Regions from separate parts of the Homo sapiens genome. Here all the other regions are linked to region 3. Evidence: promoter capture Hi-C in human tissues and cell types (Jung and others, 2019). All regions are on one chromosome and are shown on one strand. Each heading gives the region's core, a stretch centred on a gene start or on the middle of the fragment in contact. The rest is flanking DNA. Distances are from core to core; before and after follow the strand shown.

Region 1 (6,897 bases), core at 4,051-6,550, 600 kb before region 3:
GAGTAGCTGGGATTACAGGCACCTGCCACCATGCCCAGCTAATTTTTATATTTTTAGTAGAGACGGGGTTTCACCAGGTTGGCCAGGCTGGTCTTGAACTCCTGACCTCAGGTGATCCACCCGCCTTGGCCTCCCAAAGTGCTAGGTTTACAGGCATGAGCCACTGTGCCTGGCCATAACCACTTCTTAAAACCCTTTTTATTTTGAAATAACTTTGGACTTATACAAAAGTTGCAAAAATCGTTGGAAAGGGTTTCTGGATCCCCTTCAGCTAACTTCCCTAAATGTTAACATCTTACAAAACCATACTGCAATGATCAAAATCAGGAAATTACCATTGATAGAATACTATTAACTAGTCTACAGACCTTATTCCAGTGTTGCCAAGTGGCTGCTGATGGACCTTTTTCTGGTCCAGGATCGAATCCCAAATCCCACATGGCTCGGAGGTGTCATGTGTTTTTAGTTTCTTCCTGCCGGGGACAGGTCTTCAGTCTTTTTCGCTCACGACCTTGACACTCTCGCTGGTTATGTTGTACAATGTCTCTCAGTTTGGGTTTGTGTGGCAAGACGCCTGCGGCAGTGAAGCGGTGCTTTTCTCAGCCCGTCGTGCCAGGAGGTACATTATTTTGATAACTGCTCTTTTAAAACTTTATGCATGAAATCAGTTAGCCGAGATGTCCCAAACCTTCACCGCATCGTTTGTGTGATTTCGAGGAAGCATTATATAAGTACAAATTAGACAAGCAGCTGTTCTTCTTTGAGAGCTTCTGGAATTGCCTTTTCCCAGGGGATTCAGTGGGCTCTGCTGCCACATTTTACTCTTTTGCAGTCTGAGCAAGGAAAAAACAAGAAATACCTTTTTCTTTCTGTTATATTTGAGGGGAGTGAATTTGAGGGGAGTGAAATTGAAGATTATGTTAAATTCAAAGTCCCAGGATCTAGAACACTGATATTTCTATGCCAATAATATGTTTAATGGAACATGCATTTAGACTGAGACTCTGTTGCCCAGGCAATGTGGCAACCTCTTGGCTCAGAGCAACCTCTGCCTCCCGGGTTCAAGCAATTCTCCCGCCTCAGCCTCCCAAGTAGCTGGGACTACAGGCATGTGCCACCACACCCGGCTAATTTTTTGTATTTTTAGTAGAGATGGGGTTTTGCCATGTTGGCCAGGCTGGTCTTGAACTCCTGACTTCAACTGATCCGCCTGCCTCGGCCTCCCAAAGTGCTGGGATTCACCACGCCCGGCCCGGCTTTTAGCAGCATTTGCTTGAATTTATTTCTGAGAGATACAGAGGCATGGCTTGGAGCTGGGGCTCCACCTACCTGAGGACCCCACATGAGAAGAGTTTAGAATGCCCCATTGGCACAGGCGGCAGGAGGCCCCTGCCATCACAGCGGGGACGGCGGAGGCCCCTGCCATCAGAGCGGGGACGGAGCTCGGCTTTGTTGAAGGGCTTTTGAAAGAAGGTGACTTGCTGCAATTGTTTTTTCAGTGAGTGATTCATAAAGATGGCAAGATCTGTCTCCAACATGGCTTTTAGAGATTTCTGGAGTTTTTTTATAGAGGAGAAGATAATCCCACATGAAGTTAAAATACTTTTACAAAGGTTTTGTTCTTAAATGTAAGGAAAATGAGGCATTAGTCAAGCTCCTGGCTCACTTGAGGGGAAAGAAAGATTGTCAAAGGGAATTTGGAATCTTCTGGATGGACTGAGAAGTAACTTGGTTAGGTTGAGGGGCCTGGGTGGTGGTTGGGCAGCCGCAGAGCTGTCAGAGTAGAGTCAATGTCGTAGGGTGAAGGTATGGGCAGCGTGGAGGGGGACCCAGGTACAGAAGGAGGCTGGCATGGTGGGTAATCGCCATGCCTAGGATCCCACAGTCCCTCAGAGGGAAAACTTTGGCCTGATCATTTTGCTTGAGTCTCAGTTGGAAAGGGCCTCATACTCCAGTCTGCACCTGTGAGTGAATCTTGCTGATAGCATCCTTACCAAGTGACTTTATCGCCTCTGTTTGAATATGTCCAGTGATGGAGAGGTTAGTACCTCTCATAGCAGGCCTCCTGTGTTTGGACATCTCCTTATTGAGGAGAAATCTTTTCTCCTGTTAATGCCACTCCTTGTTCTTGGGTCTGCCCCTGCATTCACACTGAGCGAGTTATTCCCTTCTCCCCAGGGGCACTGTGCCACCTCAATACCCACCCACTTGTCTACTCTTACTCCACCCACATGGTTTCTCCTTGTTTATCTCTCATGGTTTCCCCACTATCATCCAGGTCTCCCCGCTGAATGGTCTGCACTTTGCCTGTGCTCCTTCTTAAGGTGTGGTGCCTGAACAAAACACCCACCACTCTTGACATGCCCAGAGCAGGCATCACCCAGTACACATGGCTCCGTCCAGATGAAAACCTTCCCAGGAGTGGCTGGATAAGGCCCCCAACCCCAACACTTGACAACCTGCTGTGCTTACTGGCTCCCCATGGCCCTCCGATTTCAGATTTCTCAGATTTCTGGCTTTGCCAGAAGACTCTGGCATCCCTGGGGCAGGTGCCTTGCTCACATCTGGGACCCTGCCTCCTGGGCTGTGATCACCAGTGCTCAGCTCTGCCAGGCCAGGTACAGCACATAGTGCTCCCAGGGTGGCCTGACCCGGGCAGAGTGGAGAAGGGCTCTTGCCTCCCCTATCCTAGTTTCTTTCCTGTCCAGCCTAGGCTCACATAGCTTCTTTTGGCTGCCACATCACATGCGGGATTCATGGTCAAACAGGCTAAATTTTTTTCACAGATGCTGCCGTGAGGCCATATTTCTCCCGAGCTGCACCTGTGCCACTGATATGTGTTCCTCCTAAGCCCCGTCTTGTTAGATTCAAATGGACTCATGGCTCCTCTCAGCAGAAAGCTGGGTTACTGGTTATTGTTTCTGATTCCTGATGGGGACAATAAAAGGCACAGACACACAGACTGGTAAGATAGAGAAGAAGCCAGAATGAACGCCCTGGCCAGCATAGGGAGCGCTCTCAAATGCGGCCGGGATGACCAGGGCGCTGAGGACAGCAGGCTCTTCCACAGGGCCTTGGGGAGGTGCCAGACTGCACCACTTCCTCCCTCTCATTCTGTTCCTGGGTTAGGGCAAAAATCAGGAAGCTCTCGTCTTCTGAACCTCACAGCCACCCCTTTGGGCTCTCCCTTCAGAAAGTGTGTTGACCGGTGGGGGCGCGGTGGCTCACACGTGTAATCCCAGCACTTTGGGAGGCTGAGGCGGGCGGATCACCTGAGGTCGGGAGTTTGAGACCAACCTGTCCAACATGGAGAAGCCCCGTCTCTAATAAAAATACAAAATTAGCCGGGCCTGTGGCGTGTGCCTGTAATCCTAGCTACTTGGGAGGCTGAGGCGGGAGAATCGCTTGAACCCGGGAGGAAGAGGTTGCGGTGAGCCGAGATCGTGCCATTGCACTCCAGCCTGGGCGACAAGAGCAAAACTCCGTCTCAAAAAAAAAAAAAAAAAAAGCAAGCAAGAAAGAAAGCGTGTTGACCATCTCGAGCTTAACTTGTGCCTCCCGAGAGACTGAGACCGGCATAGCTGTTGGTGTTAGTGGCTTGGTTGGCCAGCAGCTTGCTGTTACTGCAGGACCCTCCTGGGCAGAGGAGACCCTCCAGGGAAATACACACTATTTTATGTGCTGGTTTTGGGCCTAACGCCTCATGGGCATTCTTAGCCCTGGGAGACCAGTGTATGAGCTGGGATTGCCTCACACTAAGAATAGCAGGAACCCCTAGAAGTCTAGGGCCATTGTGGCTTTGGGGAGCCCAGGCTCCTTGTTTTTTTCTGCTGTGTTATTCTGAAGGCAGCTCAGGATCCCAGGATACTGTGATAGTCCTTCACCTCCAGCCTCAGTCCAGGCAGGGACAAGCAACGCACCTGCATCGGGAAAGCAAAACTCAGCAATTGTGGTCGACCTCCGCTTGCAGCCTATTGGCCAGAGGCAGGTCACGTGACCACTAGGTGGGTGGTAATCTGGAAAGCGTTGGGCGCACTGCTGTCCCTGGACAAAATCCAGATTCTTGTTAGTGAGGCAGATGAGAAGAACGGATGCTGGCAGGCAAAGAGCAGTGTCTGTCACAGCTCAGCTGGGCTGTGGCCTCCAGCTGTTCACAGGGATATTGGGGCTTTGGCATTCAAGGGGCTCAAAGGGGAACCCCCTGGGGATAGGTCTTTGTTTTTCTTTTCCTGTAGGGCAGTGGTATTGAACCTTGGTTGTGGGTTAGAATCACCTAGAGAACAGTGAGGGAAAAAGTGTCTGTGCCTCACCTCTGGGTCAGGAGTGAGGCTAGGCAAAGGAATACTTTAAAGAACTTCCCTGTGATTAAAAAGAAAAAAAAAATCATTCTATGGAGAATCTCAAACATACGCAAAAGTAGAAAGCTGTATATTGATCCCTGGTGTACCTGTCACCTGGGTTTCCATAATTATCAGCACATGGCCAATCTTGTTTCAGCTACATCTCCATTTTCCTCCCCCTCCCCATACCAGATTAATTTTCGAAGCAATTCCTGGACATGGTATTTCATTTGCAAATATTTTAATATTTATCTCTAAATGATAAGAACTCGTTTTAGTAATATAACCACACGACCATGATCACATTTCCAAGTGATTCTAATAAACAGGGGCCCAGAGAACAACTGCTGTGGACTAGATGAACCAGTTCTTCCCCCAGGACCTGTTGCACTGGAATCCCCTGAGGTGAATGACACAGGCAGATTTCTGGGGCCACCCCTTCCTACTGAATCAGAATGTCAACGGGAGGGACCTGGGAGTTTGCATTTTAACAAGCTCCCCAAGTGCTTGTTAACTAACTTTTGAGAGCTGAGGCAGTAAGGTCTTCCTGGTCCCAAGGCCCCTTCAAATTGAGAAGCAGCCCTAAGATGGGGATCCCACAGCGACTGTAAGAGCTGCAAATTGAGGGAAGAGGAATTAGAGTAGGATGAGGCAATCCCAGCAGTGGCCAAGAAGGAAAGGCCGAGAAGTCCAGCAGTGCTCAGGAGGCACTGTCATGCTAGCTGGAGCTGCCCGCCCAGGAGTATTCACAGCCCCACCTTACCCACCTTGTCAGGGTATTGCTGTGGGGGGGGCAGGTGAGTCGAGATAGAACCTTCTGCTCTCTGGAAGAGTAGAAATGCGCCATTGACTGTTGGGTATAAGTGGTAGAGCCTGGTATAATACACCCAGACTCAGTTAATTTTAGGTCTGAATATATTTGACAATGGAGAGACAGTTTAGAGAAAGACGGGCAGCAAGTCAATCTGAAATAAGCTCTCTTGCCTAGACCTTTTTGTTACTTGTTTTGTTTTGTTTTTGTTTTAAGACAGGTCTCACTCTCGCCCAGGCTGGAGTACAGTGGCACAATCTTGGCTCACTGCAACTTCTGCTTCCCGGGCTCAAATGATTCTCCTGCCTCAGCCTCCTGAGTAGCTGGGATTATAGGCGTGTGCCACCACGCCCTGCTAATTTTTGTATTTTTAGTAGAGATGGGGTTTCACCATGTTGGCCAGGCTGGTCTCGAACTCCTGGCCTCAAGTGTCTGCCCGCCTCAGCCTCCCAAAGTGCTGGGATTACAGGTGTGAGCCACCGCTCCCGGCCACAACCTTTTTGTTACTTTTAAAAATGTCAGGTAGGCTGGGCATGGTGGTTCACACCTGTAATCCCAGCACTTTGGGAGGCAGAGGCAGGTGGATCACTTGAGGCCAGGAGTTCGAGACCAGCCTGGCCAACATGGTGAAACCTCATCTCTACCAAAAACACAAAATTTAGCAGGGCGTGGTGGAACATGCCTATAATAATCCCAGCTACTTGGGAGCCAGAGGCACGAGAATTGCTTGAACCCGGGAGGCGGAGGTTGCAGTGAGCCAAGGTTGTGCCACAGCACTCCAGTCTGGGTGAAAGAGAGAGACGCTGTCTAAAAAAAAAAGTGCTAAGGGTGTGGCCCTTAAGGAGACAGGAACAAATCATCTAGTTCCACTAGGGATGTAACTGCCCAATGGCTTCACCTTGCTCACTGCCTAGACAGAACCGGTTTATCAAGACAGAGGACTTGCAGTAGACAAAGAGTAATTCACGCAGAGCCGGCTGTGCAAGAGACCAGAGTTTTATTATTACTCAAATCAGTCTCTCCAAACATTCAGGAATCAAGAGTTTTTAAGGATAATTTGGTGGGTGGGGGAAGGCCAGTGACAGAGTGTTGATTGGTTGGGCCGGAGAGGAAATCATGGGAAATTGAAGCTGTCTTCTTGCGCTGAGTCAGTTCCTGGGTCGGGGCCACAAGAGCAGATGAGCCAGTTTGTCCACCTGGGTGGTGCCAGCTGATCCATCCAGTGCAGGGTCTGCAAAGTATCCCAAGCGCTGATCTTAGGAGCAGTGTAGGGAGGGTCAGAATCTTGTAGCCTCTAGCTGCATGGCTATAAATTATGGTTTATAATTTGTAATCTGGTGCCTAATTTGTTAGTCCTACAAAGACAGTCTGATCCCCAGGCAAGAAGGAGGTTTGTTTTGGGAAAGGGCTGCCATCTTTGTTTTAAACTATAAACTATAGTCTGGGCGTGGTGGCTCACACCTGTAATCCCAGCACTTTGGGAGGCTGAGGTGGGCGGAACACCTGAGGTCAGGAGTTCGAGACCAGCCTGGCCAACATGGCAAAACCCTGTCTCTACTGAAAATACAAAACTTAGCCAGGCGTGGTGGTGGGTGCCTGTAATCCCAGCCACTTGGGAAGCTGAAGCAGGAGAATTGCTTGAACCCAGGTTGCAGCGAGCCAAGATCGCGCCACTGCACTCTAGCCTGGGTGACAAGAGTGGAACTTTATCTCAAAAAAATATAACTCATCTCAAATATAACTCCA
Region 2 (6,765 bases), core at 1-2,500, 760 kb before region 3:
TTCACTTAGCCATTTTTGTGAGCTGAAAGGCTTGCATTTTTTTTTTTTTTTTTTTTTTTTTTTTTTTTTTTGAGACAGAGTCTCGCTCTGTTTCCCAGGCTGGAGTGCAGTGGTGCAATCTCAGCTCACTGCAACCTCTATCTCCTGGGTTCAGGCGATTCTTGTGCCTCAGCCTCCCGAGTAGCTGGGATTACAGGCGCCCGCCACCACACCCAGCTATTTTTTTGTATTTTTAGCAGAGACAGAGTTTCACCATGTTGGCCAGGACGGTCTCGATCTCCTGACCTCGTGATCCTCCCGCCTCGGCCTCCCAAAGTGCTGGGATTAGAGGCCTGAGCCACCGCGCCCGGCCAGCTTTCATTTAAAATGCTTGGAGGAGGGGAGGTACTGTTAAGTACCTATTGAAGTAGAAAGTCTAGGCTTAGGTCGTGTGCTTAGTAGACCTAAGCTGGGGAGTGGGGAGGTAGATTTTGTTAAACCTGTGGTATCTTTTGACAAAGGATACCAAGCCTTGACAAAGATCTGGGGAAAAGAGGGATGGTTTTGAATCGGATAGAGTTTAGTGTCAGACCTGGCATAGCTTAATGTTACACGGGGTCAGTTTTTTCATGTTTTTTTCTTTGATGTAAAGAAAATTTTATAGTACAAAGAAAATTTGTTGCCTAAAATTAACTTATCCCATCACTAATACTCCAGTCAGTGCCTTAGCTAGAATGGAATCAGAGTCCCCACTTCTTAGAGAAGCAGATCCCCTATCTCTCCAGATTCTTTTAATTAATTATTATCATTATTATTATTTTGAGACAGAGTCTTTACTTTGTTGTCCAGGCTGGGCTGGAATGCAGTGGCATGATCTTGGCTCACTGCAGCCTCCGCCTCCCGGGTTCAAGTGATTCTCCTGTCTCAGCCTCCCGAGTAGCTGGGATTACAGGTGCACGCCACCACGCCCAGCTAATTTTTGTATTTTTAGTAGAGACGGGGTTTCACCATGTTGGCCAGGCTGGTCTCGATCTCCTGACCTCAAGTGATTTGCCCGCCTTGGCCTCCCAAAGTGCTGGGATTACAGGTGTGAGGCACTGTGCCCGGCCTGATTCGTTTAATTTTGATTGTTGGTTACTATCCATTTAATACTTTGTATGTGCCAGGCACGGTGCTATGTATGATAAATGTATCATGTCATTGACTCTTCATAACCCTGTGAAGTGGGCATTGATCTCATTTTATAAAGGAGGCTGCTGAGGCACAGAGTAGATACGTGGTCCAAAGTTTGGATCAAATAGCTGATAAGTGTCAGGGCCTGGATTTGAACCCTAGTCTGTCTGACTTCTGATTCCACATACATCAGCACTTTGTTGTGCTGCCTCTGTAATAAAGTACTCCTGGTTTAACACCTGGAAGGATTCCAGTGCAGATGCTGTGGTTTCACAGTTGTAAATTACATACTGTAGTAGAAGGTAGCCTTGCTGTATCTACAGGCTCTGGCTAAAGTCCAGGCCTACTGCAAAGGTAGCTTCTATGGCATTTCTGCAGTACTGCGTTGCCCCCACTCTGAGGCCCTTTGTCCTTAACTCTGACACATTTTTTGGTTTTGTTTTGCTTTTTAGTTTGCCAGAAAGCACGAGAGCCCGCTCCTGGTGACAAAGAGCCAGAGCCTGACAGCCCTGCCCAGTTCCACATACACCCCTCCAAACAGCTATGCTCAGCATTCCTACTTTGGGTCCTTCTCTAGCCTCCACCAATCCGTGCCCAACAATGGCTCAGGTATGGGGACAGGAAAAAGTGGTCATTACATTTATCCCCAGCCCTGGAAAGTAAGAAGACTTTGTGGTTGCTCATAGGCTTGGAAAATTGAGACTTGGGTTGGTAGTTTTTCTTAATAAGGGACATCTTTACAAGTTATATAGTGACTAGCTTGAAATAATTCAGTAGAATCATGAAGTAACAGAAGAGAGAGATGTTTGTAGATTCCCCTGGGTTTCTAATCCACATTGCCAAGAAGGCATTTCAATACTAGCTAACACCGAATGATTGCCAATCATGTACTAGGCTCTGTTGTGTTCAGTTTGTATGTGTTATCCCATTTGAGCCTTCAAACAGTCCTCTTACTGCTCATTTTTCAGATGAGGAATGCATACTAATAAGCAATAAAGCACTGTCTCAGGAGCCCATACTCTTGACTTAGCTGCTTCTAAATAATTTTGTACTTTATTTGGCTTGCCGTTTCTGAGGTGACATCGTATGTCCTGGTCACCCAGTCCTTCATACATACTGCAGGATTCCACCTCACCCTTGCTCCCCTTACCATTTCCTTTTATATTCTAGAGAGAAGATCTACTTCCTTTCCACTCTCTGGCCCTCCCCGGAAACCTCAAGAAAGCAGAGGGCACGTCTCACCAGCAGAGGATCAAACCATCCAAGCCCCCCCAGTTTCAGTCTCTGCACTAGCCAGGGATTCCCCTTTGACCCCAAATGAAATGAGCTCCAGTACTCTGACCAGCCCCATAGAGGCATCCTGGGTCAGCAGCCAGAATGATTCCCCAGGTGATGCCAGTGAGGGGCCTGAGTACCTGGCCATTGGCAACTTGGACCCCCGAGGCCGGACTGCCAGCTGTCAGAGTCACAGCAGCAATGCCGAGAGCAGCAGTTCCAATTTGTTCTCCTCCAGCAGCTCCCAGAAGCCAGATTCTGCTGCCTCTTCCTTAGGGGACCAGGAAGGAGGTGGGGAGAGCCAGCTGTCCAGTGTCCTCCGCAGGTCCAGCTTCTCAGAGGGGCAGACACTCACTGTCACCAGTGGGGCAAAGAAAAGCCACATTCGCTCCCATTCGGATACCAGCATTGCCTCCAGGGGAGCTCCAGGTAATGAGGAACACCGGCTGCTAGTTAGCAAGATGACCCTGAATTGAGAGTAAGAGAGGGCTTGTTATGGGGACTTTTCAGGTGGCAGAAAGAGATGTTCTGTTTCTGGTGATACAACATCTTATTTTGTAATGAAAGAAGTTTATAACGAAATACTGAGACTCAAAATCTCTAAGTCTATTTATGTTTGTTTCTTTATACATTGCTAATATTAAATGTTTTCCTGGATTCTTTACTAGTTTGGTAACATCAGAGGATAGCGTGACTCATAGTGCGAGTTTTCAAAGTATCTCTTGGATTGGGGAAAGTATTATTGAGCTTTAAAAATAATCCCATTAAGTTCTGTCATTTCCTGTGACGTCTTAGAAGTTTGCCCAGGGTGTAATAATACCAATGTGAGAGAGGCAGAGAGATACTGGGGTTTCTAATTAAAACGAAGGCTATAGTGAGTGCAGGGTGATGCGATCCAGCAACTGAGTCGGTGGGGCTGACGGCCGCATCACTGATTCAGGGTGAGAGGCCGTCAGATAAGGAGGCCCTGGCAGCTGGGACCTCCCTCACCAAACACCAGCTGATAGCAGGGGCAGCCTACTCGTGGGGAAGGTGGGGCTCCTTGCTTTTGCCATCTCCCTGCCATCATCCTTCCCGGCTTGTGGTATCCGGCAGGCTTTGGTTGGGTTTTGTTTGTAGTAGGATCTCCATAAGAGGAAGTATAGCATGGAGCTTTGTGCTCAAAGCCATTCTGGGTCAGGAAAGCCCCAGAAATAAAATATAAAAATAAAATGTGAAAAATTCAAGGACCTAAAAAAAAGAGGGGGCGGTTTCTTTAGCAACTGGAGATAGCGTTGCTTTCTCTTTGTAATTTCTGGAAAGGTGAGAGCTAAGGCCCTCATCTGAAACCTTCAGAATTACAAACTTTTGTCTTTGTTTTCCCTCAAGAATGTGATTTAACTTGTTGGAAATCTTGAGGAGAAGAATCTCCAAATCAAAGCCTGTCTTCCCATGAGCTTTCTTAGATGTGAAGATGACTGGGCTGGACCCTCACTTCACATCTCCTGCTGCAGGCCTGATGTCTGCCATACTCCAAGCCACTGGCCTTTGAGCATGTAAAACTTTCCCGCCCCATTCTTGAATCCATATGGATTCCAGTGGAATCCTGCCTTGGAAAAAGGGAGCCCGCGAAAATGTGTGCGGAAGGATCTGAGGAAATATGGGTCACGCACAGCTTCTTGGACAAGCCATCCGTCCTTCACAACTGGGGTTTCCTCTTGGGAGTTCCATCCCCACTTCTGCTGGGTAAAATTTAGGACACTTTTTTTCTCTCTCTGTATTCTCATTGCTCTATCTGGACTCTCCTCTGCACCTGTCTGTCTACCGGCAGGAGGCCCCAGGAATATCACCATTATAGTTGAAGATCCCATTGCAGGTTTGGGAATCGGTCCTCCACCTCCTCTTTGTTCTGTTTTGTGACCACCTTTCTTAGTTCAGAACCTCCTTCAGTCTGGTGTCAAATCAAGTCTGGCTAGCCTGGTCTTGTTGTGATGCTTGGAACTGTCTATAAAATGATACCAGTATTTCATATGATGTGTTTTCTATACACAATTCCAAATGCCTCGTTCAGTCTCTCAACAGCTTCTGGGAGGCAGAGTCAAGACTTATCAATTCAGTTTTGCCCAAAGGTGAAACTGAGGCCTGCTATTTGTCTGAGGCATCATGATGAATCAGTAGCAGACTTTTTTTTCTTTTTTTAAATTTTTTTTACTTTTTTTTTTTTTTTTTTTTTGTAGAGACAGGGTTTCACCGCATTGCCCAGGTTGGTCTTGAACTCCTGGCTTCAAGTGATCCTCCTGTCTTGGCCTCCCGAGTGCTGGGATTACAGGCGTGATCCACCACACCTGGCCCAGAATTTTTCTTATAACTGAATACTTCCTATGGATTACTTTATTTTCCTTGAATTAACACCAGAATGTATTTTATCCCCTTTCTGTGGTCTTAGATATACTTGCATGTTTGGTTTTTTTGTTTTTTGTTTTTTTGTTTTTTTTCCCTCTCCTGCAGTTCCGTTTCCTTTTTCTTTCACCTGTTTTCATTTCCCTATAAATCCCTGCACCCCATTCCAGCTATTGCATAGGATTCTTCTAGTTATTTCAGTCTGTTTCCTTGGTGTTCATGGTGGTGTTCAAACTGAGATTTGTGTTCCATCCTGGGTACCATAATTCATGGACATGAACACTGGAATGTGTCTGCAAGGCAGAGTATTGAGAGAGGGCTGAAAGCCGTGGCCTCCTGGAAGTGGGTGAGGCCATTGGGTATGTTAGCTTGGAAAACAGATGGTTAAAGAGGAATAAAGTCTGTAGGACCATCATTTAGAATAGCGTTCTTCTTAAGGAGATAAGAAATTGGAAGAAGGCAGATAACGAGTGTAAGGGAATTCTAAGAATTAGTTAAATGGTGGCATTAGGAGGTAGTGAACTCAGTAAGTAAAGGCTGAATGGCCACATGTTGTAAAGAGGTTAAGGTCGTGTTGGAGTTTGTGTTGTGTGCTGTTTGGGAATCTTGAAGGTCCCTTCCAAGTCATATCATGGTTTTTTACCAAGGCATCGTGGCGACTACTAGTTTGTCCTCAGTTCAGTAGGAAGGAACAGAGCCCACAGCCAGGGCTACCAGAAGTCTTTGAGGCCCAAGAAGAACACAAAATTGTCTCTTGCACAGAGTAGCATTTTTTGTGAGAGGAGCAAGTTGGTAACATCTGTCAGGGAAATGGGTTAGATGCAGCTCAGTCATTCACTCTCCCACAGCATCCTGCTCATTTTCAAGCACCCACCTGCTTTTCCACCTGTTCTTCCTTCTGTGGTCCTGGAAATGTTGTGTTTCCTTGTGAAGAATATCAGTTTCTCATTCCTGCAAACCCTGCCTGCTACTGTTCTCCCTCCCAGCTCTCGCTCTTCCTGTCCCAGGCATTGTCTGTCTCGCCAGCCTTCCCTCCCTCCCTTCTTCAGTAAGGCCGGGCCGAGCCCCGTAACGGAGCCCTTTGCTTACAGGGCCCTCTCCCTGGGCTTCTCCAGCACTGCCTTGATGCTTCTTTTTAGGATGCTGCTGAATTTTATTTCCTTAGTGAATGTAAATCTTCTGATGTTACTTTAAAACCTAATGTCAAGATGTCAGAAAAGTTTCAATGCACTTGTCTTTGTTTTACCATCTAAAGACTTTTCTAAATTGGTTTGTCAAGAGGATAGGAATCAGCTGATATTCCTGTAATGTTTGGTTAAAAGATGTAAGGAAAGAGAAGCAAATTCCATGAATCCATTTTGATTTGATTCTTTCCTTTATGTTGCCCCATTCTGGATCACGTTTCTTCTTTTCCACTTAGAATGTACTGACCTGCCATCTCCTTCCCTCCCTGTGTTTCTGTACCCTTGGGCTGTTCCGTTGGTGTGCCGCCTCTCTCCTGCTTGGGAGGGCTTTGGGAAGGGGTGCAGTTAAGTGTTGAAACTCCAGAGTTGGGAATGTACCTGTTGCTCATTTCGTATGTGTTTTTACTCGCTGGTGGTCATCGTCATTAGAATCCTGCAATGATAAGGCGAAGTTGAGAGGCCCTTTGCCCTACTCTGGTCAAAGCAGTGAAGTCAGCACACCCAGCTCTCTGTACATGGAATATGGTGAGTACTAGGAAGGCCAGGGCTAAAATTGTATATTTTCTCTGCTCACCCCTTGTGCCTGCTAAGTTCTGAGTTTTGGGGTTCATCTCAGCTCTCTGGAGGGTACACACTGTTACAGTCTCAGTCACTCTTTTGTCATTTTTAACCCCCGTGCTAGAAATCACACTGCTCTGCCATTTCTCTTGCTTCTCTCTGACTTGGGGGTCCCACCCTCTCTTACGTGCTGGGTGTTCGCACCGGGTACGTCGGC
Region 3 (6,842 bases), core at 242-2,741:
TTTTTGAGAAAGGTTCTCGCTATGCTACCCAGGCTGGTCTCATCTCAGGCTCATGCGATCCTCCTGCCTCTGCAGTGGCTGGGATAAGACACAACTGCCACCAGGCCCTGCCCCTAGGCAGTAGTCTTAATGCCTGATGGTGGGGGGTTGGGGAAGGAAGGGGTTGAGTATCAGGGTAAATGCTGCAGAGCTGTGTTAAGGACTTAGGCCCTGGAGTCAAATGCCTCTGCTCACATCCCACTCTGCAAGACTTTGGGCAACTTAAGCAGCAGCCTCTGTTTCCATCGCAGTGGCTCTTGCCTATAATCCCAGCACTTTGGGAGGCTGAGGCGGGAGGATCACTTGCGCCCAAGAGTTCGAGACCACCCCATCTCTACAAAAAAATCCAAAAAGTAATCTGCTTCCTCATGTGAATGTCGTTGTAAGGAGTGAGATAACACATAGAGTGCAATGAGCAAGTCCCAGCACAGAAGACTCATTTCATAAAATACGTGTTTATTATTACCATAGGCCTACAGTCCCCGGTATTCTTAACACATCTTGCCTGAGAAGTATCACACTCATGCCTATCAACCAGCTCACACATTTAATCAAAGGAATTTGGCAGCTGTAGGGTTGTCTTTTCATCCATATCGTCCCTGGAATTAACTGTCCTGCTATACCAGTCAGATTGAGCAGCATCTGTCAAGAGTTTCAGTCCCACTTGCAGAGGAAAGGCTCTCTGGCTTCGGTCCGTGGCTCTCCGTAGGTGCCGTGTCTGGACCCAGCCTACCTTCATCTCTGTTAGGCTTAGGGCTGTCTCCACACTGTGTCTTGTCCAATCACAAGACTTCAACGGAGCGGGCGGTCTGGCCTAGGCTCTTATGCGTGGGATGTCTGCAGGCCAACAATCCCAGTCGGGATTCGAAGCCGCGCGCAGTGCCCGGAATGACCCCTCCACATTGATGCCACTGTAGAGCCCGGAAGGAAAAGCAAGCGGCCTCGGCCCCGCACAGCCCAGGATTAAATGTTTGCGCCAGGGCCCCTCTGGCTACCTGGTGGTGGCCCCGAGCGGCCTCGGAGGCCGCGGCGTAGCTCCTGGGTGAAGGCGTCTCTAAATCGCTCAGCGCGGCGGCACAGGGAGCCCACGGGCCCAGCCGCGAGGTCCTGCAGGCGGCGGGCCGCGTCCTGGCCCCGCAGCTGGGCCTGCAGCAGTGCGAAGGCCGTGAGCTGCGCCGCACGTCGGATAGGCCGCGACTCTGACAGACGTTCCACCAGCTGCGGGCTGTGCAGCAGGGCGGCCAGCAGCCGCCGCAGCACCATCTTCTCCAAGCGCCCGGAACCCGACCTCGCCGCCCTCGTCTTCCGCCCCGCGGCGCCCGACCCGGACGTCTATGCCCCCGCGCAGCTTGATGACGACACGCCGCCCTCGGATTGGGTCCAATGAGATGCTCGCCTCCGCGCGTTTCCGCTTCCGCCATCGCGGACGCAGCCTCGTGCCGGGAGTCGCCGCATTGTGGTCCGCTTCTCTGCACTATGTCGGGTGGCCTCCTGAAGGCGCTGCGCAGCGACTCCTACGTGGAGCTGAGCCAGTACCGGGACCAGCACTTCCGGGTGAGGGAGGCCGGGCCGCGAGACGGGAAGGCCCTGGGCAAGAACGCTGAGAAACGGTTTGCTCTTGTCTCATTGTGTCGCCTCCCATTCAGCTGAAATCCGCAAACGCCAAGTGGGGCCCCGGTGCCTGCTGGCGAGGCAGGGAATGGGTGCTGGAAGGGCGCTTGGATATCACTGAAGCCACTTGCTCTGGAAGACGGGGAACTGGAGGCTCGCTTATCCCATTCGCTCGCAGCCGCTCCCTGTACCCCAGCCAGTGCCGAGAGGTTTGAGCGGTGGTGGTGGTGGCGGCTCCCGTTTCCACGGTTGTGCCTCCGCAGACGACTACGTAGCAAGGGGGAGGGGTGCCCTTCTCTCTCCCAGAGTAGGCAGAGGCGCCTTCCTGATGCAGATGCGGGGCTTTTTGCTTTGTTTTTTAAATCGGCGAAGCAGTGCCCTTCGGCGATTCGGGCCCCTTCTCTGGGAGGATGGTGTTACGGAAGCTGTACGCGGTGCGTGGGAGACACAAGTGGAGTCCTCACTCCGCCCTCGGGGAAGCTTCGGAGTGGGGAGGTGGACCCGCCAAGCTCGGCACTTTGAGGGTGTTCGGATGTAAAGATCGGAGAATTGCTGGATTTCAGAAGAGGGAAATTTTTAGTCCGGACTATATCACAGTATATTTTGTGGAAAAAGGGGAGGCAGCAGATATTCAAAGTAGACTTTTCAGTATCAGCGGAGGTAGGGATGGAATACGGTTGGGGGTTGGCGGGGCGGGACTCATTAACCCAATTATTTAGTAAACGTTTATCGAGTGCTGTCGCCAAATCCTTGTGCTAAACCCTAGAGGGAGAGGGAAGACAGTTTCTGCGCTCTGCGAGCTCATAATCCCCTGTAGTGAGGATTCAGAAAAGGGAAAAATCCCCTTGTGACTGGGAAAGGAAGGGGCGCATATAGCAGAGGGTAAGTGTGGAGAATGTGTGAAATGTGTTACTAGAGTAGGGAAAGGGAAATTTTGTTTGACGCTAAATTAGGGAAGCTCTTAGATTTATTTAGTCAAGGCTGGGAACGGTGGCTCACGCCTGTAATCCCAGCACTTTGGGAGGCTGAGGCGGGTGGATCACGAGGTTAGGAGTTCAAGACTAGCCTGGCCAAGATGGTGAAACCCCGTCTTACTAAAAATACAAAAATTAGGCGGGCGTGGTGGCAGGCGCTTGTAATCCCAGCTATTCGGGAGGCTGAGGCAGGAGAATCGCTTGAACCGGGGAGGTGGAGGTTGCTGTGAGATCGCGCCACTGCACTCCAGCCTGGGCAACAGAGCGATATTCCTTCTCAAAAAAAAAAAATTTATTCAGTTAATGTATTTTATTTTTTGAGACAGAGTCTCGCTTTATTGCCTAGGCTGAAGTGCAGTGGCGCAATCACGGCTCACGCAGCCTCAACCTCCTGAGCCTAAGTGATCCTACCCACCTCAGCCTCCTGAGAAGCTGGGACCACAGGCTCGCGCCACCACATCCAGCTAATTTTTTGTAGAGACAGGGTCTCCCTGTGTTGCTCAGGCCAGTCTCGAACTCTGGGACTCAAGCGATCCACCTGCCTGGGGCTTCCCAAAGTGCTGGGATGCCTAAGTGCCAGGCATGATTTGCACTTCTACCACTTTTAGTTACTACTTTAGACAGTTCCACATCCTGACCATTTTGAACTTAAAGCATCCTGTGAGATGAAAACTGGAACCTTCTGACTTTGTCTATTATTCATCTCCTCAGTCTAAACCTGTAGCTTTTTTTAGATGCTAATGCCATACTGTCATGTGGAATTTCTAGCATTCTGTGAATGGAATCCATATTAATATACTTTAAGCACTTACACCACAGTTATCTTAAACTGTAGGCTATTTATTTGGATCTTACTTACATGTGTGAGAAAAGTAGAAAAAGAAGATGCCTCCTTTCCATGTTCACAAATCAGTAACAGCAGTAAAATGAAAGGAATTTACTTTCTCTAATGTCTCACTCCAAAGTTCCGAAAACCTCTTTTTAACATACAATGACTATTGTCCTGTGGACTTTTTTTTTTTGAGATAGAGTTTCACTCTTGTTGTCCAGGCTCAAGTGCAGTGGTGCAATCTCAGCTCCCTGCAACCTCCACCTCCCAGGTTCAAGCGATTCTCCTGCTTCAGCCTCCCGAGTAGCTGGGATTACAGGCGCCCGCTGCTACCATGCCCAGCTAATTTTTGTATTTTTAGTAGAGACAGGGTTTCATTCACTATGTTAGCCAGGCTGGTCTCAAACTCTTGACCTCAGGCGATCCACTCGCCTCAGCCTCCCAAAGTGCTGGGATTACAGGCATGAGCCACCGCGCCTGACCCCGATGAGCCATTTTGGACCCAGGGCTTTGTCTGTCAGGTGTGTTGGATGAAGCCCAGTTATATGCTTAAGTCTCTGGCTTCATCCTGTCATCCCAATTTGGAAGCCCATTAAGAAAGTGAGCTCTGTTTTGTTTTTAGTGATCACTACATTTTCCCCTAAACTCAGAGAAAGATCTATGAGCACGTAAAGCATCAAGGTTGTGGCTTTCAACAGTCTCTAGGGGGTTATTAAAGAGGAACTCTCTCTCTCTCTGAAAACCCACTTATTTTTCACTACGAAGGATAAAAGGGCCCTTTGTCATATATTGGGTCAAGGTCCAGAGTCTACACTTGGGTTTAAAGGATGCACTGCTGAGGATATGGTGTGTGCAGGGAAAAGGGAAGCCGCTTGCGTGGCAGTCGGGCGTAGAAGTGACTTTGTTGTATGTGGTATAACTTTTGAGCCCTGTCTCTACTAAGAGTCTGGACTTCGCATAAGTGCTTCACAGAAGGTCGACATCCCCCTTTTTGGGCAAGGGATTTCTGGTAGGCTGGGATGAGAGAAGTTGATTTCCAAACCAGAATTAATGAATGTCTCTACCGTACTTAGAAATACTATTTAAGCAAGGCTCTGAAGTTGCTTAACTTTTGTCTCTATTTGAAATTCTAGGGTGACAATGAAGAACAAGAAAAATTACTGAAGAAAAGCTGTACGTTATATGTTGGAAATCTTTCTTTTTACACAACTGAAGAACAAATCTATGAACTCTTCAGCAAAAGTGGTGACATAAAGAAAATCATTATGGGTCTGGATAAAATGAAGAAAACAGCATGTGGATTCTGTTTTGTGGAGTATCCTTCCCATGGATCTAATGTAGCTGCTGAACCAGGGTAGAGCTGAGAGTGGTAGCTCATAAGCGTCCCTGCACTCGTCCCTACGTTTTCCTTCATCTCCCTCCTACTTTCCACCCAGTGTGTCTCTGCCCTTATACTGTAAAGCTGATACTATTTATATTCTCTTCTGAAATCCATGCTTTATGGTTCTTTAACAAAAAGTTTTTCAAGAATGTTTGCCCTTCACGTAAAAAAAAAAAAATTCCAAAGAATGTAGTGAAAATATAAAAATCTCGTACTGTTCTAAACCCCTAATGCCCTTTGCCAGAGGCAGTCAGTTACCAGTTTCTTGGGCGTCTTTCAAGAAGTAACCCTGTGGGTGTGCGGTAGTGTATTTCATGTGCTGTTTTTAAAATCATTTTTTTATTTTTTATTGTTCCATTTCAGCATATGTAGGTCTTTTTTTAAAATAGCTGTACAGCTGGGCATGGTGGCTGGTGTTTGTAGTGCCAGCTGCTCAGGAAGCTGAGGCAGGAGGATCAGTTGAGCCCAAGATTTCAAGGCTGCACTGAGTTGTGACTGTGTTCCAGCGGGGGTGACGGGTTAAGACCCCATCTTTAAAGAAAAAAACTTTTAAGTAAATAGCTGTATAGTATTTCATTATATAGATGTATATAACCTGACTGTATAGGTACAAACCAAAACTATTTACTTTGATCATTTAATTCCCTTACTCAGACTCTTTTAAGTATTGGACCTCTTGGATTTATCCTATGTTCTTTTTACTGTATGTTTTGGTCATTCAATTTAATATTCTGAGAAATTTTGCAGGCCCAATTTAATATATCTTTTGAATTTTTTCCTGTGCCCTGAATTATGTTTGTTTCGGTTGAAATTTTTCCTTAAGTGTCTGGTGATCCCTGGATTTCTGCTCATAATTAAGGAAAAGAATGCTGACTCACTGGACCCAGGCAGGGCTTCTCTCCCAGATTGCAGGCTTGCCTCGGGGATACACAGGTTTCCCAAATGCTAGAATGAAAAGAGATTTTATTTTGGCTTGCTAACATCAAAGATACTAGTTTCTCCAGATGGTTTATTCAGAACACTGTTGTCTTATTTTTATTTGTCTGAGATTAAATGTCTTCCCCTTTAATTAAAGGGAGGTCTCTGATGAAGTAGGTTTGGGAACTGCTACCTTGGTGACAGCTTGAGTCTTTCCTTTAGTGAAGTGCAGCACAATTCCACGTGCACGGTGACCTTCTCTTGATTAGGGTGCCTTGGAATGTACAGAACCTAACTTGAATATACAGCACTGGTTTCTTGGATAAGAAGTGTACAGTGATCTAAACTTGCAAACCAAAATACAGAGATGATGGGACCAAAAATTATCAACAGGAATGTCCAAGAAATATGATCAGTGTAGCCATGGATACGTGTCATATTTGACTCTATGTGCTTCCAAACCAATCGCAAACAGGCCTGGGCAAGCTGAATTACTGTCTTTGAACTCCATCTGGTTGGATTAGCTCTTGTACTTTTTAACAACTCAGCTTCATTTACATGTTGTTCCCCTATTTCCAGAAATGTTTGGAAAAATGCTAGTGTTCCTTAATACTTAAGATATTACTCACGCGCAGATGCGGAAAACGCCATGCGGTACATAAATGGGACGCGTCTGGATGACCGAATCATTCGCACAGACTGGGACGCAGGCTTTAAGGAGGGCAGGCAATACGGCCGTGGGCGATCTGGGGGCCAGGTATGCAAGAAGGGTCTCTGGGCTCAGCCATTGCCTGGGATTCCAGTCACAATGACAGGTGTTTTGGCAATTTGTATTTACTCTTTTGTAAATAACTTTGTGTCTATAACCTTGGCTTGAAGTGGATCTGAAAACCACCCAACGGTTTGGGTGAATTTTTTTTTTAAACCGTGAAATGGTATGTTCTGTACGTTTCTAACAAGCAACCATTCTTGAACTTCTGCTAGGGCTAGGTATCTTCCACCTGCAGGAACATCTAAAATGAAAGCAAAACGCACTGAAGTGAGCTGAAGTGCATATGTCCTGCTTGAAATGTTCACATTGTGGCATCTG
Region 4 (7,111 bases), core at 3,880-6,379, 650 kb after region 3:
CTTTTCTCAGTATTCCACATGTCTCTTATGCTTTTTTCTGATTTTTCTATTTCCTCTCTGTGCTTCAGTTTATATATTTTTTCTTTTTTCAGACGGAGTCTCGCTCTGTCACCCAGGCTGGAGTGCAGTGGTGTGATCTCGACTCATCGCAACCTTCACCTCCTGGGTTTAAGCGATTCTCGTGCTTCAGCCTCCCAAGTAGCAGAGACTACAGGCGTGAGCCACCGTGCCTGGCCAATTTGTATATTTTTCTATTGGCCTTTTAGGTCAATCATCCTCTTTTCTGTTGCATCTGATCTGCAGTTAAACCCATAACCTGAGTTCTTAATTTCAGTTATTGTATCTTTCAGTTTGGGAATTTACATTTAGTTTTTATAGATTTCAGTTATCTAGTAAAAGGCTTTATCCTTCAATCTTTTTTAACCCTCCCCACTCTATTTTTACATTTTAGTCATACTAATTATTTTATTTTATTTTATTTTTGAGACAGAGTCTCACTCTGTCACCCAGGCTGGAGTGCAGTGGCGCCATCTCTGCTCACTGCAGCCTCCACCTTCCAGGTTCAAGCAATTCTCCTGCCTCAGCCTCCCGAGTAATTGGGATTACTGGTGCCCACCACCACACCCGCCTAGTTTTTGTATTTTTAGTAGTGACAGGATTTCACCATGTTGACCAGGCTTATCTGGAACTCCTGATCTCAAGTGATCTGCCCCGCTCAGCCTCCCAGAGTGTTGGGATTACAGGCATGAGCCACTGCGCCCAGCCACAGTAGTTATTTTTATGTTGTTATATGCTTACTCTGGTATCTGGGTCATGTGTGAGTTTGTTTCCATTGTATTTTTCTTGATAATCATGTATATGGCTTTGTCTCTTGGCATGCCTAGTTTGAATCTTAGATATTGCTTAAAAGAATTATAGACCTCCAGATGATATTATTTTCTTCCAGAAAGGACTTAACTCTCTCTTCTGCTGTGCAGGAAGAGTATTGGCCGCTTAGCTTCAGGTACTGAGCTGAATTGAGGTTGGGTTACAGTTTTATCTTTTTAAAAAATTTTCTTTTCTTGTGCCAACTCATCTGAGAGTTGTGGTTTTAAAAAGGCCCTATCTTAAATTCATCCCTTTTTTTTTTCTTTTTTGAGACAGAGTCTCAACTCTGTTGCCCAGGCTGGAGTGCAGTGGTGCGATCTCAGCTCACTGCAACCTCTGGCTCCTGGGCTCAAGTGATCCTCCTGCTTCAGCCTCCCAAGTAGCTGGGACCGTAGGCATGAGCCACCACGCCCAACTAATTTTTGTATGTTTTTGTTGAGATGGGGTTTCACCATGTTGCCCAGGCTGGTCTTGAAGTCCTTGGCTCAAGTGATTCTCCTGCCTTGGCCTCCCCAAGTGCCCAAGTGCTAGGATTATAGGTGTGAGCCACCACACCCAGCCTCACCCTTGTTTCTATTTTTTTTTTTTTTTTTTTTTTGGAGACAGAGTTTCATTCTTGTTGCCCAGGCTGGAGTGCAATGGCATGATCTTGGCTCACCACAACCTCAGCCTCCCGGGTTCAAGTGATTCTCCTGCCTCAGCCTCCTGAGTAACCGGGATTAGAGACGCACGCCACCACGCCCGGCTAATTTCTGTATTTCAGTAGAGATGGGGTTTCACCATGTTGGCCAGGCTGGTCTCAAACTCCTGACCTCAGGTGATCCACCCACTTTGGCCTCCCAAACTGCTGGGATTATGGGCGTGAGCCACTGTGCCTGGCCCCCTTGTTTCTTAATTGTAGCCCTCCAAGTCTTTCAACCAAGAACCTCGAATGTTCATTAGGCCTCTGCAGGCCTCTACCTCCAACAGGTGCTGACTTTCAGATCTTGTCTCCTCAGCATAAAACTTTGCTCTTCATGTCAGAGGCTTTTTCCTTAGTGTACTAGTTTCCTGTTGCTGCCGTAACAAATTATCACAAACTCAGTGCTGAAAATGGCACAAATATATTACTTTACAGTTCTGGAGATCAGAAATCCAAAATGGGTTTCATTGAACTAAAATGAAGATGTCAGCAGGGCTGCATTCCTTCTGGAGGCTCTAAGACTGAATCCATTTCCTCGTCTGTTCCAGTTAGAGGCCCCTGAACTCCTTAGCCCATAAGCCGTTTCCTCCAATTTCAAAGCCAGCAGCACAGCATCTTCAACTCTCTGACTCTGACCCACCTACTCCCTCTTTCTTTTGTAAGGACCCTTGTGATTTAGTCATACTAGTTACTTTATTTTATTTTATTCTATTTTTGAGAAAGAGTCTCACTCTGTTGCCCAGGCTGGAGTGCAGTGGTGCCATCTCGGCTCACTGCAAGCTCCGCCTCCTGGGTTCACGCCATTCTCCTGCCTCAGCCTCCCGAGTAGCTGGGACTACAGGCGCCCGCCACCACACCCGGCTAATTTTTTGTATTTTTAGTAGAGACGGGGTTTCACCACGTTAGCCAGGATGGTCTCGATCTCCTGACCTCGTGATCCGCCTGCCTCAGCCTCCCAAAGTGCTGGGATTACAGGCGCGAGCCACTGTGCCCGGCCTGAATTCAGCATGTCTTGAAAAGAAAACCTACCATGTGATACGCTCAGTTCTACTTTCTCCTTTTTTATGGGATCTTCCCTCCAGAATCTGATTTTACCTCCTTAGCTTTGTTAAGACTGCCGACTCTGCTGGGCACAGTGGCTCACTCCTGTAATCCTACCACTTTCGAAGGCCAAGGCGGGCAGATTGCCTGAGCTCAGGAGTTGGAGACCAACCTGGGCAATATGGTGAAACCCCGTCTCTACCAAAAATACAAAAAATTAGGGCCAAGCACAGTGGCTCATGCCTGTAATCCCAGCACTTTGGGAGGCCGAGGCCGGTGGATCACTTGAGGTCAAGAATTCGAGACCAGCCTGCCCAACATGGTGAAACCCCGTCTCTACTAAAAATACAAAAATTAGCCGGGCGTGGTGGTGGGTGCCTGTAGTCCCAGCTACTTGGGAGGCTGAGGTAGGATAATTGCTTCAACCCGGGAGGTTGTGGTTGCAGTGAGCCAAGATTGTGCCACTGCACTCCAGCCTGGGCAACAGAGTGAAACTCCATCTCAAAAAAAAAAAAGAAAAAAAAAAATTAGCCAGGCATGGTGGTGCATGCCTGTTATCCCAGCTACTCGGGAGGCTGAGACATGAGAAGTGCTTGGCCTGGGGAGGCAGAGGTTGCAGTGAGCTGAGATCGTGCCACTGCACTCCAGCCTGGGTGACAGAGCAAGACTCTGTCTCAAAGTAAAATTAATAAATAAAAAAATTTTAAAAAGTAAAGACTGCCAACTCTCCTACTAGTTAAATTTTCCCTCAGTAATTTGTTCTTTACCTGAGCAAGGCCCAGATTCTCAGCATCTAGCCCTGTGCCCTGAATTGGCAAATCCTCCAGGAAAAAAATCTGCTGCGGAATATCAGCTTACCTCCTAGAGTTCACCTCTTTCTGGAATTTTGGCTCCTCTAGGCCTGTTTGCTTTGGCAGCTCCCTGATTCATTTTATCCAGCTTTTCTTACTGTTCTTGGTGGGAGCATTATTAGCCTGCTACAAACTGTACCATTACACTTTTTCCAAGTCACACCTGTAATCCCAGCACTTTGGGAGGCTGAGGTGGGCCGATTGCTTGAGCTCAGGAGTTTGAGACCAGCCTGGCCCACATGGTGAAACCCTGTCTCTACAAAAAATATAAAAATTAGCCAGGCGTGGTAATGCACGTGTGTAGTCCCAGCTACTCGGAAGGCTGAGGCAGGAGAATCATTGAACCCGGGAGGTGGAGGTTGTAGTGAGCTGAGATTGTGCCACTGCACTCTAGCCTGGTTGACAGAGTGAGACTCCCTCTCAAAAAATAAAAATAAAATATAAATAAATAAAACAATTGGGGTCTCACTATTTTATATTTTTGTCTCAAAAAACAAACAACTCTCTCTTGTGGTGTGTGCTTGATTCTGCTTCTTGTCATGTCTTCTCACAAGTCTTTTAAGAGTAAGCGATTCCTGGCCAAGAAACAAAAGCCAAATCGTCCCATTCTCCAGTGGATCTGGTTGAAAACTGGTAATAAAATCAGGCACAACTGGAAAGGAGACATTGCAGAACAGCCAAGCTGGGTCTATAAGGAACTGCACGTGAGCTGGCACACATATTCACGCTGTATCAAGGTCACGGCCATCTTACTATAGCAAGCTGAAAACGTCACCACTGTCTGAACAGTTGGACGTGTTTTATTGGGAATATATTTTTTCTCTTTGCTTATATGCCCTGCGATAGTAGGCTGGGTTCAGTAATAAATATGTGAGACCTTTTGTTTCAGGAAAAAAAAGAACCAATATAATATAAGGTATATGTGTATGTTTCTCTGTGGGTATGGGTTGTGAACTGCCTGGGTGCAAAGCCAAGCTTTGTTACCTAGTTGTATGACCTTGTACACTTAATTTCTCTAATCCTCATTTGTCACATTCACTAAATGGGTAAAATTATAGTACCTCATAGGATTCAGTGAGTTAATACACGTAAAACACTTAGACTAGTGAATGGCACAAAGTAAGTGCTCAATAAGTGTTTGCATGATAAATCATACACATACGTTTAATAGAAATGTAAAACATTTGTAATTTTTTTTTCACTTATTATTATTATTTATTATTAGTTTTTGAGACAGAGTCTCACTCTGTCGCCAAGGCTGGAGTGCAGTGGCACAATCTTGGCTCACTGCAGCCTCCACCTCCTGGGTTCAAGTGATTCTCCTGCCTCAGCCTCCCGAGTAGCTGGGATTACAGGCGTGTGCCACGATGCCCAGCCAATTTTTGTATTTTTAGTAGAGATGGGGTTTCACCATGTTGGGCAGGCTGGTCTCGAACTCCTGACCTCAGGTGATTCGCCCACCTCAGCCTCCCAAAGTGCTGGGATTACAGGTGTGAGCCACCATGCCCAGCCTATTTTTTTCACTCAACATTATATTGTGAATAGCTTTTCATGTTCTTGGAATTTTTTTTTTAAGAGCCAGGGTCCTGCTGTGTCTCCCAGGCTGGAGTGCAGTGGTGCTATCTCAGGTCACTGCAAGCTCCGCCTCCCAGGTTCACACCAGCCTCCTGAGTAGCTGGGACTACTGGTGCCTGCCGCCACGCCTGGCTAATTTTTTGTATTTTTAGTAGAGATGGGGTTTCACCGTGTTAGCCAGGATGGTCTCGATCCCCCGACCTCGTGATCTGCCCGCCTTGGCCTCCCAAAGTGCAGAATTGTTTTTTTTTTAAGAGCCAGGGTCCTGCTGTGTCTCCCAGGCTGAAGTGCAGTGGCTGTTCACAGGTGTGATCTTCACATACTACATCCCTGAACTCCTGGGCTCAAATGATACTCCCTGTCTCAGCCTCCTGAGTTGCTGGGACTACAGGGACACGTCACTGTGTCTTGCAAAACTTTTCTTTAAGGTCTACATAGAATTTCATTGCCAGAAAACATCATTATTTCTTTTTTCTTTTTTTAAAAAATTCTCCCAGATCCTGAGAAATACCATAATTTCATTTACCAATCCAGTCCTATTGGGCATTTAAGTTGTTTCCATTTTTAATTGGCTTTTATTTTGACTAATATTTTTTTCTTATCCAAGAATTGCAGAGAGGAGAATAGCCAATTTCAAGGTAGTTTAGCATTCTGTAGAGATATTTTTGGAGTTATAATTCGTTAGAAGACTGAATTCTAGTTCAGAGTTTGCTCCTTTTTCTGGGACTCTATAAAATGATCAGGTTGGACTAAATCTGTTGGGCTCTTTCTGTGCCTTCCTCGTCCTGTTATTGTGCAGGAGCTGAGCTCATTAAAAGTCACACACAAATCTCTAGTATTGATCCCTGTAGCCATCAGGTAGGGTCTGAGGCTGTCAGAGTACCTGGCTGGTCACCTCTAGTTGCAAGCAGCTTCATCTGACTCTAGTTTCTCCGGTTTACCCAGTATACTCTCTGGTACAAATACAATACTCTGTGGGTACCTACCTGTGAAAGGTTTGGAAGTACAGATCTATGAGAATGTATTAAGGAACACTGTTTCTCGTGGCAGATATGTGTCGTTTAGGTCCTTGTTAGATTGTTGATAATTCTTCATTCTTGGATTTTTTAGCATGGCTTCTCGCTGTTTCTGGGATGCTGACACTGACAACTATACTCATGATGTTTTCATGAATGTAAGTGTATTTGGAAACCTCTTTTCCCTTTCTAAGAACGTGGGCACCGCAAATCAAACTATTTACTGTTGATTGGGATGGAAAGACACTGCTGTCTTAGTCATTCATCTTTGACTTGTGAATGAAATGATTTTACTGTTAGTTTTTGTGTTACTAAAGCAGAAACCTAGAGTGCTGCTTATAGGCAAGGAAACTTACATGTTTACATATGACATAATTTTTCATGGGTTTGAATTTCTGAATAGCATATTATTTAGTTAGCATATTATTTAAACATTATTTTTAGCCACTTCCTCCATAAATCAGTGTTCTAAAACTCAATCCTGATAATCCTTATTAAAGTAATAATTTATAACTAAAATTTTAAAATCACTTATTTGTTCATTTGAACCAATCACACTTTGCTAAGTTGCAAACAAATGTGGATGGCAGGGATTCCATGAGCAAAGGTCATTTTTTTTTAGTAGTAAAATTTATTACTTTATCTTAAAGCCATTTATTAAAATTAAGCAAAAATAAAGAGGAATCTTTAAAAAGATGTTTCAGGCCAGGCGCGGTGGCTCATGCCTATAATCCCAGCACTTTGGGAGGCCAAGGAGGGCGGATCACCTGAGGTCAGGAGTTCAAGACCAGCCTGGCCAACATGGTGAAAGCCTGTCTCTACTAAAAATATAAAAATTAGCCGAGCATGGTGGCGGGCACCTGTAATCCCAGCTACTCAGGAGGCTGAGGCAGGAGAATCGCTTGAACCCCGGAGGCAGAGGTTGCAGTGAGCTGAGATTGTGCCACTGTATTCCAGCCTGGGTGACACACACACACACATAAAAGAGGTTTCATTGAAGTTATTATTTTATATTTACTCCAGAAAGGATTGCATCCTCTATTCGTCTACTCCCAGGTTGTGAATACATAGAGTCAGAG

Evidence for each region. Contacts are between HindIII fragments. The study calls those that stand out against the background at their distance.
Region 1: a contact is called between a fragment that was not itself captured here and the fragment with the promoter of NCBP2 in region 3, in 1 of the 25 tissues and cell types used here (dorsolateral prefrontal cortex).
Region 2: a fragment that was not itself captured here is called in contact with the fragment with the promoter of NCBP2 in region 3 in 1 of the 25 tissues and cell types used here (aorta).
Region 4: a fragment that was not itself captured here is called in contact with the fragment with the promoter of NCBP2 in region 3 in 1 of the 25 tissues and cell types used here (hippocampus).

Annotation. Positions count from the first base shown.
Region 1 is chr3:197,539,133-197,546,029 of GRCh38, reverse strand. The region is part of intron 3 of BDH1 (3-hydroxybutyrate dehydrogenase 1); the gene reads left to right. Among named protein-coding and RNA genes, the nearest start is that of BDH1, 13 kb to the left of the region's middle. RefSeq lists enhancers at 3,265-3,858, 3,858-4,152, 3,859-4,454 and a silencer at 3,958-4,252. The HindIII fragment of the contact is 8,756 bases long and covers 923-6,897 here.
Region 2 is chr3:197,696,704-197,703,468 of GRCh38, reverse strand. It overlaps RUBCN (rubicon autophagy regulator), which reads left to right. Exons shown (of 20, transcript NM_014687.4): 6 at 1,605-1,761; 7 at 2,323-2,856; 8 at 6,420-6,515. Among named protein-coding and RNA genes, the nearest start is that of MIR922, 26 kb to the right of the region's middle. The HindIII fragment of the contact is 4,690 bases long and covers 1-3,595 here.
Region 3 is chr3:196,937,177-196,944,018 of GRCh38, reverse strand. It overlaps NCBP2 (nuclear cap binding protein subunit 2), which reads left to right and starts at 1,491. Exons shown (of 4, transcript NM_007362.5): 1 at 1,491-1,593; 2 at 4,587-4,768; 3 at 6,371-6,509. The coding sequence starts at 1,516. It overlaps NCBP2AS2 (NCBP2 antisense 2 (head to head)), which reads right to left and starts at 1,345. Exons shown (of 1, transcript NM_001355243.2): 1 at 476-1,345. The coding sequence starts at 1,302. The coding sequence ends at 1,003. NCBP2-AS1 (NCBP2 antisense RNA 1) reads right to left here and starts at 4,142. Exons shown (of 3, transcript NR_046630.1): 1 at 3,892-4,142; 2 at 2,877-3,045; 3 at 1,485-1,626. RefSeq lists enhancers at 888-1,047, 812-1,485, 1,268-1,567, 1,618-1,757, 1,788-2,027 and 2 more. The HindIII fragment of the contact is 10,051 bases long and covers 1-6,842 here.
Region 4 is chr3:196,295,085-196,302,195 of GRCh38, reverse strand. DYNLT2B (dynein light chain Tctex-type 2B) reads left to right here. Exons shown (of 5, transcript NM_152773.5): 4 at 6,127-6,190. Among named protein-coding and RNA genes, the nearest start is that of PCYT1A, 11 kb to the right of the region's middle. The HindIII fragment of the contact is 5,937 bases long and covers 2,161-7,111 here.